Regions from separate parts of the Homo sapiens genome. Here regions 2 and 3 are each linked to region 1. Evidence: promoter capture Hi-C in 16 types of primary human blood cells and fetal thymus (Javierre and others, 2016). All regions are on one chromosome and are shown on one strand. Each heading gives the region's core, a stretch centred on a gene start or on the middle of the fragment in contact. The rest is flanking DNA. Distances are from core to core; before and after follow the strand shown. Region 1 holds the start of SPACA7 (sperm acrosome associated 7). Region 2 has its middle 87 kb from the start of LINC02337. Region 3 has its middle 110 kb from the start of LINC02337.

Region 1 (3,656 bases), core at 968-3,467:
CATATTTTAGTGCTCAAATCTGTTCCTCCACTCCTGCATCTGGGATTAGTTTGACTCATTTGGCCGATGAGACATTAGCAAATGTGGTGCAAGAAAAGGCTTGTTTGCATCGAGGCTTACTCTCCTTTCTGCTGTGACCAAGCCCAGGCTGCCTGCTAGAGGCCGAGAGACCACATGGAGGGAAGCCTCAGCCATCCCAAGCCCCAGCATCCTAGCTAAGGCCTCAGACATGTCCATGAGGCCACACTAGGCCAGCAGCCCCCAGAGCCAACCCACAAAGTTGTAAGCAATCACACATGGGCTGTATCAAGTCACCGAGCTTCGGGCAGCCTTGAGAATGACTCCTTCCTCGACCAAATCAGCGAGGCTCCTCTGACCCCTCTTCTCAACGAGGCCTCGCCCCCAGCCCTGATCAAATTCCTCATCCTCCGCCTTGAGGTGGAAGTCCCTGGCCTGCCTTAGCCAGACATCCCTCCTTGGTGCAGTGGGTGTCGTTCGACAGGCAGCAGTGCAGGGTTCTGCTGTCATGGGAGCTCTGGCTGCTGTCCGTTTGTACATTCAGCCTCTTAGGCCCATGCTGCTGGCCCCAAAATGACATTCTGAGTAGCAAGAGCCTGGGTTATAGAAGCAAGCATCTCACTTGGACCATTCATTAACTCAGAGTGGGACTTGGAACCCACTGGGTTTCTGTAAATGTCAACCATGCTTAGTGTGCCTTTATGGACACGCTGAAAATCTGAAATATACTCCCCACACCTTGAGGTAGATTGGCTACCACTGCATCTATCAAAAGGAAAACCTGAGCAAAAATGTGCTGTGGGTTCCCATACAAGCAATAAAAATTAAAGAGCCAGAGACCCATGGTGGGTCAGCCATCCTTGGGGTCCTGACCAGACCTCGGGGGCATTGTTAGTCTTGTGCGTCCAGGGCCCCAGTGATATGGTTTGGCTCTGTGTCCTCACCCAAGCATCATCTTGAATTATAATCCTCATAATCCCACGTGTTGAGGGAGGGACTTGGTGGGAGGCGATCTGATCATGGGAGTGGATTCCTGCATGCTGTTCTCATGATAAGTGAGTTCTCACTAGAGCTGATGGTTTTATAAGTGTTTAACAGCTCCTCCTTCATGTACTCTCTCTCCTGCCGCCTTGTGAAGAAGGTGCCTGCTTCCCCTTCCGTCATGATTGTAAGTTTCCTGAGGCCTCCCCAGCCATGCAGAACTGTGAGTCAATTAAATCTCTTTTCTTTATAAATTACCCAGTCTCAGGGAAGTTCTATATAGCAGTGTGGGAACAGACAAACACACCAGCCCTCTCCACCATGGAGCTGGGATCTGAGGGCTGTTCACCTGGGACCCCACCACCGGCCGAGTCTAGACCAGCTGCCCCACTCTGAGCCCTGGATGTAGGAGTCAGTCCAGGGGTGAGATAGGATCCAGGGGAGCCAACCAGAGTGACTCCTTTGGGGTTTTGTCACTGCACGGATGGAGAAAGCTCTAGAAAGTCTAGGAGATAGAGCTGGGAGGATGATAACATGGAAATGCAGCCATGTTCTCCTCTCGTGATTAAAGTCTCACTGCCAGGGAAAGATTGGGGCTGATGCTGAGAAAGAAGGTGTGGGGGAAAGGAGGCTGAAACCTGGGTCATCTGTCTCCTGTTCTTCATGATCCTGGAACTTTGAGGGTGGGGGAGGGTGGGAGGGGACATGGGGCCACGGGCCTCTGTTCTTCAAGGCTCTGTTCTTCAAGGGACCTTTAAGAGGTGATTAGACCCTCTGGATCTGTCGGTTCTGGCACTTGCTCTGTAATTCAACCACCTCTCCAGCATCCTTCAAATACGCCTCTTTCCATGGGAGCAGATTTTGTTGGCTTTTGGCCACTGGCCCTTAAGTCCTGATTAGTATCTACCCCTTGAGTCCTCAGGGTGCTCAGGACAGAGGAAGTCACCAGAACAGGCAATAAGAAAGAGTGGAGAGGATCTCTGTTACCTTAAGACCCCAGTGAGCCTCCTCCCTGCTTCCCAGTCACAGACTCTGGACAGAAACCCTGCCCCCCGCCCCTGGCAAGATGCCAGCTCCCTTCCTGGTCCTGATGTCACAGGTCCCTGGACATGACCTCCCCACCAGGGCAGGACCCCAGCTCCCTTCCTGGTTGTGATGTCACAGGTCCTGACATTCCACAGTGTCCTGGAGACCAAGGATGGGAAACTGTCAACCTTCAGAACGTCCTTCTCCCTCAGCTGGAGGGAGCATGGCAGTGAGCCAAGGAGACGGGACCCTCTGCTTTGTCCTCCTGCTGTGCTGTTGGCAAGAAACTGAGCTCCGGCCGAGAACCGTGATTCCAGGTAGGGCCCCACAGGGATGTCTCAGCAGAAAGAGAACTGAACCAGGTGGGGAGCGGCGGCCTCTTCTCCCATGGGTTCCTCTTATTCCCAACCTACATGAATTTACCATTTATTCCTTGGGGAATGAATGTAGCTGAAAAGTCTTTCTATCTTTGAAGACTTTTTAAAATCTAGATGTCCATAGGAAAGTTGCAAATGTTACTTATTTTAACTTTTTATTATGGAAAATTTCTAACTGGGAAGAATATCATGAACCTTCGTGTATTCACCCTCAGGTTCAATTATTGTGCATATTTTGTTTTTTTCTACACACACACACATACACACTCCACACCACATACACACACTTTTCTTGTTTGGGGAGTATTTTAGCACCATCCCAGATGCCTTACCACCTCATGTAAAACATTTTCTTGCGAAGAGATAAAAGCATTATCTACAATGTCATAATCAGACTAACATAATTACCAAAAGCCTTTATCTCAGCTCATACCGTTAAAAAATATTTGTGATGCTTGCTAAAGATGGGCAGGCAGCCTTTATTCAAAGGGGGCTACTACCATGGTGTCTCATAATAGTGGAGAGTGGGCTCAACTCCAAATACAGGGAAAGTGGAGATTTGCAGCCAAGGATCAGGGTGGGTCAGTGGATGAACATTGCTAAAAGGTAGGAGAATTCTTTGCTAAACTGATTCAGCAAAGGCCAAGAGGGCTTTTATAAACAAAAATGAAGCATTTATATTTTTTGTCCCACCTGATTACTCTAGAATTTGGATATTATGATTTTCAGGACCATACAATTGTTTGCATAAGTTTAATAAAAATTGATTATCCTTGCAACAGGACACAAAGGTCTGCTATCTTTGAAGACCTTTTAAAATCTAGACATCCATGAGAGAGTTGCATATGTTACTTATTTTAACTTTTTATTATGGAAAATTTCTAACTTGGAAGAATATCATGAACCTCCATGTATTCACCCTCTAGTTCAATTATTGTGTATATTGTGTTCGGCCAAACAGGAGGCCAGACCTGAAAGGAAGCCAAGGCAATAAAATAATCAAAGATGGAGGGTGAGGAATTTGATCAGATATCAAGGGTGACCAGGCCAAGACTAGGGGATTTCCACTAAAAGACTTCACAGGATTCCTACTAAACATGGGGAAAAGCAGACAAAAGCAGAAGCTAGGGTCAAGGCCTAGTCAAAGAGAAGACTCAGAGGAGCCTGGCATGAGGTAAGTCAAGGAGCGAGGCTTTCTCATTCCCTCCTCTTGTTCAAGAAAGAAGAGACATTCCTTTTCTCTTTGAACAAGAT
Region 2 (3,822 bases), core at 1,181-3,680, 870 kb before region 1:
AGGAGCTCTGTGACCTTCTCAACTCGGTCTCCGCCACTCCAGTGTGTGGATGGAGCATATATTGCCTGTCTCCCTTCCTCTTTGGGGCTGAGGAGGACTCCAGTGTGTGGATGGAGCATGTTTTGCCCATCCCCTCCTCCACGGATGGTTGCGTTGTATCCTTCTCTGGGCAGCTGTGAGCATCACTGCTGTGAGCGAGAGTGGATGGATGTCTGAGTGCCCAGTGGGCCCCTGAGGGCACCATCTGCCTCTTCTCCAACCCTTCACAGGTGCTGCCCTGCCATCAGGTGCCAGCAGCACCCCCACTAACCTGACGGCCTCTGCTTGCCCTTCCAAGCCTTCAAGCAAGTGTCCCCCTAGGGACAGCCCAGGCTGCATGTGTGCCCTTCACCCAAGCCTCCATGCGAATGTCCCCCCAGGGACAGCCTGCACTGCGCGTGTGCGCTTTGTCCAAGTTTCTATCACATCCTGTACCTCGGTCCCAGAATCTCTTACTTTTTGCGCTGCCATAGCTGCTATACTTAGTCAGCTTCCCTGCTCAACTGCAAGACACTTAAGAGACAAAAATGAGGCCTGAACTTTTGTGACCCCAACAAATAAATATGTGTTGGCTGGATTCATGGCAAGAAAATCAGGCAGCATGGGTGGCTTAGGGACAACCCATCTGTAAACCCATTTTAACTGCCAGTTTCACCTCATCCCTCCAGCCTCAGCCTCCACCCTCACCCTCACTTCCCTTCTGAGCCTAATGTCCTAGGCCTTTGTTTGGGATGGACTGTGGGGCTCCTCATCTCCCTGAGCACAGCCCCTTTCTGCAGATGCTGAAACCATGAACAACCCCATGCTGGTGGCTGGGTGAGTGAACGGGGGTGCTGGTGGCTGGGTGAGTGAACGGGGGTGCTGGTGGCTGGGTGAGTGAACGGGGGTGCTGGTGGCTGGGTGAGTGAACGGGGGTGCTGGTGGCTGGGTGAGTGAACGGGGGTGCTGGTGGCTGGGTGAGTGAACGGGGGTGCTGGTGGCTGGGTGAGTGAACGGGGGTGCTGGTGGCTGGGTGAGTGAACGGGGGTGCTGGTGGCTGGGTGAGTGAATGGGGGTGCTGGTGGCTGGGTGAGTGAATGTGGGCATAGGCTCCACAGCGTGGATCCCTCCTCCTGGAAAGACCACCAGCAGCCTTTGTTTGAGGAAATTCTGTGCTTTTATTTTCATACAATACAAGGTGACATTATTCACAATGGGAAAAAATATGGCAAAATAAATAACGGAAACCACTTTTCATTGACTTCCCCAGTCATTTGACCTGCCCCCCAGCCTCGGTGCTCAGGTCTCTGGTTAACTACTGATGGTATCAAGAGATTCACTGCACCTTCGGGGGCTGAATTCCTTATTTGTCAATTTTGCTCATTTTATGTTCTTGGTTTGCCCCGACCCACAACAAAAGCTTGGTCCATCAAGAGAATAACATCTATTCGTCACCAGCCAAACCAGATCCCAGGAGAGAACCACATCAGCCACACATCAGCATCTTTTGGGATCATGGCTTTTTGACCCAGACTAACAGAAATATTTATGTGACCAGCACTTGCCCGGAGGCCCCCGTCCTCCTGCAAATACTGTGACCCGGATGCAGGGCGGGTGAGCCTCACAGCAGGGCTTAGCCGGGAGGTGGGGCGGGGGGGGCTTTGCTTTGCCCAGGAAAGAATGCAAGGGTGAGCCAGTGGTAGAAGAGAACACCTTTTCTGAAGCCACAGTGCCACGGCTCTGGAGGTGTTACAGCTCTGTGACGGCCCCCGCGGAGCTGGGCTACCCCATAGGCTGAGAGTTGCTGCTTAAGGTGGTTTTGTTGTCATATTTATACCTACTTTTAATTACATGCAGATTAAGTGGCAGTTTATGCAGAAATTTCTAGGAAAAGGTAGTAACTTCTGGTTCATTGAGTCTGCCGCGGAAAGCGGGGGGTAACGCCCAGTGGCAACAGTAAACTGACAGGTGCACTGGGGGCGTGTCTGATGGAAAACTGCTTCCACACCTTCCCTGTTTTATCTAGTCTTCAGTTGGGTCCGGTGTCTGAGTCCTGCCTACAGAGTCGAGTCCCACCTCCTACCAAAATCTCATACAAAAACAGCATCTGCTGCCCCGAAGCTGGCCAGACATTGCGAAAGGTAAGAAACCCGCCATTGACAGTTGACGACCATCCCTCTGGCTACTCCCTCCCACCCACATCTCTATCTTTAAACCACTGAAAGCAAATGGAGTGAGTTGCGCCTTCCTTCAGTGTGTCTATCTGTGGTCGCTAAGGTGACATATTACATGACATCCTTGGGCACTGGTTTTGCAATAAGCCATTTAAAGATTATGTTACCGGTGGGTCTTTGTTCTTAGAGCTCCCAAGATGGCGGCGGGCCGCTCCCAAGATGGCGGCAAGCCTTTTGTTCTCTGACCTGGGGTTCTTGGCCTCACAGACTCCAAGGAATGGAACGTTGGGCCATGCAGTAGTGTTATAGCTCTATCAGAAGCCGTGGGTCATGGAAGAGAACCGTGGAACCCAGTGACAGGTGTTCAGCTCGATTAGGACGAATCCGGGCACTTAGCCATGCAGGAACAATGGCGAGCCTCTAGCCGATCCGGAGCGGCAAAGTCTAGCTGGGTCAGAAGCTCAGTGGACACTCTGCTGGATCCAGAGGGATGGAAGTTAGAGGCGGGCCTGTGACGGCGGCGATCAGCAGTGGTAGACGGCAAGTGAAAGCTCAACTTGAGCCAGAACAAACACAGACCAGAAGAGTGAGCAGTTGCAAGATTTAGTAGAGTGGAAACAGAGCTCCCGTACAACGGGAAGGGACCCAAAGGATGCTGCCCGATCCGGCTTGAATGCCTGGGTTTATATCCTGATCATTGTCCCTCCCCCTGTGCTCTCAGGCGACAGATGATTTGACTATTTCTTTACCTCCTGCTTTTAGCCTAATTGGTATGTTAGTGAGCTGAGTTACAAGCCCCTGTTTAAAGGTGGGTGCAGTCACCTTCCCCAGCTAGGCTTAGGAATTCTTAGTTGGCCTAGGAAATCCAGCTAGTCCTGTCTCTCAACTAGAATGTCTGTGTGTTTGTGCTGGGCAGTTGTTTGTTTCAATGGGATTAAAGCACTCTGCACTTTCAGTGGGTGCTATTTACAGTATTGAGCTATGTTGAGGGAAAAGTCTGCCGCTTTGTCAATGATGGGAGTTTCTAGTTAACAGCACTTTAAAGAAGTGGAAAATGCTCAGTTATCACCCAATGTGAACAGGATCAATAATAGTTTAGTAGTGCCTGATAATTGGAGTAGCTGTTATACACAAGAGCCTGTATCTCCTTGAGTGACTCTTATCAATCTATTGTCCATCATCATCTGATAATCAGACCGAAAATATGGTGGGGAATTTTCCCTTTTTAAATCAAGCTTGTGAAAAACATTTGAAATAATAAAGAAAAAAGCCCCGCTCATTGTTCATCTCAGCGGGGAGGAAAACCCAGGAGCTGGGTGACTCTGTAAGGCGAATGAAAACTAAGGGGTGTGTGCTGTGTGGAGGGATGCTGGGTGATGTCAGAGGAAAATAATTATATTCAGAGAGCATTTAAAAAATTTGCTGCTTAGAAGCCAAAGTAGTTGCTACAGTCAGACTTCGGGTGGAATTTTTAGTGACATATCTGCTGTGGATCTGGGAGGCCCTCAGAGGGTTTTATGTCATATTAGCCAAGAGGCATTTGAATCACACTGAATCTAGCCCTTCGTGCGTGCTTGGAAGAAGACATGGCATGGTGATGTTAGAGTTCTTTTCTCTGTTCATCCGTTCA
Region 3 (3,368 bases), core at 403-2,902, 890 kb before region 1:
TCACCAAGCAGCTGGCCTGGAAAGAGACTCACGGTGGGCCATGGGTGACTTGGTTTAAAGGACAAAAGGACTCTGGGTGCATTTCTCCTGCCATACAGGCCATGAGGGAAGAGAAGAAGCAGACATGTCTCTGTCCCTTCACTAAGTGTCAGGAGAAAGGAGGAGACGACTGCCCATGGCTGCACTTGCTGCTCTTTCTGGCATTTCTGAGTTACTGGGGCAGCCAAAACATCCCTTCTGTGAAATGTGTGTGGCTGGTATCAGCTGGCAGCCAGGACAAACTTTGTGCAGCACAAGTGTGGCATTGGAGACCCTCTGTTTCTTGCATCTGCCCTAGGTGAGCTGTGAAAGAGCAAGGAGGCCAGGGGAGAGGAGGAGGAGGAGGGCTCAGTGCAGCCTCCAGGCAGCAAGCACCTGCCCAAGGGGCTGCCGAGGGTGAGCATGGGCCTCACCGCCAGCCCCCCGCTCATAGGCCACGCCTCACCAGAGAAGGTCCTGGAAGTGGAGAAGGTCCTGGAAGTTGGCCACGTGCAACAGTTAGGGCTGAGCAACCGGGGGTGCTCAAGGCATCAGTCACAACAGGAAGAAAGTGAAATACCAGGGCTGCTCCCCGCTGGGGAAAACCTGTGTGCCTCCTGTACAGAAGGGCCTTTTTATTGTTAATCTGAGAAAGAATGTTCCGTGAGGCTTGCTTCCAGCTACAAAGGGCCACCTGTAGATAGATATTGGTGATGTCTTCTTAGGTTGGAATTACTGCTCAAGCTCCATTGGGAAACTCAATTTTCCTTTTTTTTTTTGGAGGGGGCAAAGATTGAATGGAATCGATGATGTGGTCTGAGCAGAATTATTGCATTGTGTGGGCCAGTGAGAGCAAACCTTAAGAAATTTGTAGTGTACACTTGAAATTTGCTAAAAGGATAGCTCTTAATCCCAGCACTTTGGGAGGCCAAGGTGGGAGGATAACTTGAGGCCAGGAGTTCAAGACCAGCCTGGCCAACATTATGAAACCCCATCTCTACTAAAAATACAAAAATTTGGCTGGGTGTGGTAGTGGGTGCCTGTAATCCCAGCTCCTTGAGAGGCTGAGGCGGGAGAATCGCTAGAACCCAGGAGGCAGAAGTTGCAGTGAGCCAAGATTCCTCCCCTGCACTCCAGCCTGGGTGACAGAGTGAGACTTCATCTCAAAAAAAAAAAAAAAAAAGATCTTAAATCTTCTCAGCGTGGACACAAACAGGATAACTACACAGAGGTGATAGACATGTTAATTAGCTGGAATGTAGTGTCATTTCATATGGATAGGTGCATCAAAACATCAGGTTGTACATCTTAAATATATACGGTTTTTAGATGTCAATGCTATCTCAATAAAACTACTTTCTAGAAAGTAAAGTCTGAGCATTTGGGAGGGTGGGAATGGAGAACTCTTTTATCCGGATAAGAGCAGGCCGCACATAGACGTGTAACTGAGGGAACCAGCCAGGTGAGCCTGAGGCAGATCAGAGATTTGCAATGTCCCAGCAGGTATGGCAAGGGGTGCCCTGAAATTCTCCTGGTGGAATTTTGACAGGGAGTCCTCATAAAATTACATATAAATAAAGAATCCTATAAGTCTATAACAAAAGAGAAAATAAAATTTCCTTTTTTTCTCTTGTTCTCTCAAGGACACACCTGGTAAGTCTCCTCTTTCTAGGAATCAAAAAGCACCTTGGCCAGCAAGTGGGTTTTCAGCGCTTACCTGACTTGCAGGTACACCATGGCCTGCTGAGCAGTTCACTCACATGCACGGCGAGAAAACAGGACTGTCCCTGCCGAGTGTCATGATGGCAGCGGTCACTCTATTAAACAGGGACTGTGAACACACCTGACAGGTGTCATCCTAAAGACACGCTAGGCTGTGGACTAAGGTGTAAGGCTGGCTCCATTCTGTGGATCTGGGTTCAGGCAGTGTTTATTAGAACCAGCTTTCTCCAGTCTGTGGTGTGACTTCCTGGCTTGCTCATGGCACGGTGCTGCGAAGCAACTTTTCCCTCTGGGCCCCCTTCCTGAGTATATCCCTGGTTTCTCTGGGAAAGCCTTCCTCACTGCCCTCTCCCTTCCCTCACACCAGCTGCATTCATTTCTCCCTTCTCTGTCCCCTGGGAAGGAGCTGGAATGTGGGTCACGTCCTGCCGAGATACCTGCTCCATCCAGCTTGGGGCTGGGAGTGCCTCAGAAGCTGACGGCAGAAGGCCCCAGCTTAGCCCGGCATCCGGCACACAGCAGACACCCCGGGCTCTGGGCTTGAGAGCTATGAGCAGGTGCACATTACTCTACTCCAGCAGGAGAGTCGGGCCTTGTGAATGACTCATTCATTTATTCTTTTTGCTTCTCTCATGTTTTCAGCCGAAGGGTGCGTTTTGCCAAAGTTTCCCTCCCTCCCTTTCTCCCTCTCCCCATCTCTCTCCCCATCTCTCTCTCTCTGTCTTTCTTTCTCTCTCTTTTTTTTTTTTTTTTTGTGATGGAGTTTCACTCTTGTTGCCCAGGCTGAAGTGCAATGGCACGATCTCGGTTCACTGCAACCTCTGCCTCCTGGGTTCAAGCGATTCTCCTGCGTCAGCCTCCTGAATGGTTGGGATTACAGGAGCCTACCACCATGCCTGGCTACTTTTCTTTTATATTTTTAGTAGAGATGGAGTTTCACCATGTTGGCCAGGCTGGTTTCGAACTCCTGACCTCAAGTGATTAGCCCGCTTCGGCCTTCCAAAATGCTAGGATTACAGGTGTGAGCCACCGCACCTGGCCCCTTTTGCCAAAGTTTCTATGTCATATAAAACCTAGAGAGTGGACATAGTCATCACTCCTGGAGTCACAGGGCTGCGATAGCTCTGGGCTTCGGGAAAATAAGCTGCTCACATCTTGCTTGCAAAAGCACGGCTTCAAGTGCCGGAGTGGACTCACCAGAGATAAGCATAAACCTCACAGTGGCAGCTGTGTGGAGATGATTTTTCATTTGCTGGAGGGACTGTCAAAACTCACGGTCCTCGGAGAGTGTCTTTCCCACTGTCATGGGTGAGATAAACTTCCCCAAATGCTACCACGGCCAAGCTGCCAACTCCACATTTGCATTAGTAGTTTAGCTACAAATTAAACACGTTGCCAGCATGCTTTATTTTGGTTTGGGAAGGTAAATTGTAGTAATTATATTGGGACACAGGAATGCATACTTAAATTTGAGGAGAAACACATTGCCAAGGCTTGAATCTGTCATTTAGGGATGACTTGGCATATGTGCATCGCACCGAACAAGCTATATTTGCAAATGGGTGCTCCCTTTCTCAAGGTGAACAAGCCAAAATTAACCAATGCTTTCTTGCTAGCAAGTCTTCCCG

Evidence for each region. Contacts are between HindIII fragments. The CHiCAGO score rates a contact against its expected background, and 5 or more counts as called.
Region 2: a fragment that was not itself captured here is called in contact with the fragment with the promoter of SPACA7 in region 1 in 1 of 17 cell types (endothelial precursors); the score reaches 6.1 in endothelial precursors.
Region 3: a fragment that was not itself captured here is called in contact with the fragment with the promoter of SPACA7 in region 1 in 1 of 17 cell types (endothelial precursors); the score reaches 6.3 in endothelial precursors.

What each region holds. Positions count from the first base shown.
Region 1 is chr13:112,374,138-112,377,793 of GRCh38, forward strand. SPACA7 (sperm acrosome associated 7) reads left to right here and starts at 2,218. Exons shown (of 7, transcript NM_145248.5): 1 at 2,218-2,342. The coding sequence starts at 2,249. It overlaps LOC105370373 (a long non-coding RNA gene), which reads right to left and starts at 2,141. Exons shown (of 3, transcript XR_944295.3): 1 at 1,987-2,141. The HindIII fragment of the contact is 13,511 bases long and covers 1-3,656 here.
Region 2 is chr13:111,506,660-111,510,481 of GRCh38, forward strand. No RefSeq gene overlaps it. Among named protein-coding and RNA genes, the nearest start is that of LINC02337, 87 kb to the right of the region's middle. The HindIII fragment of the contact is 1,989 bases long and covers 1,437-3,425 here.
Region 3 is chr13:111,489,018-111,492,385 of GRCh38, forward strand. No RefSeq gene overlaps it. Among named protein-coding and RNA genes, the nearest start is that of LINC02337, 110 kb to the right of the region's middle. The HindIII fragment of the contact is 5,857 bases long and covers 1-3,368 here.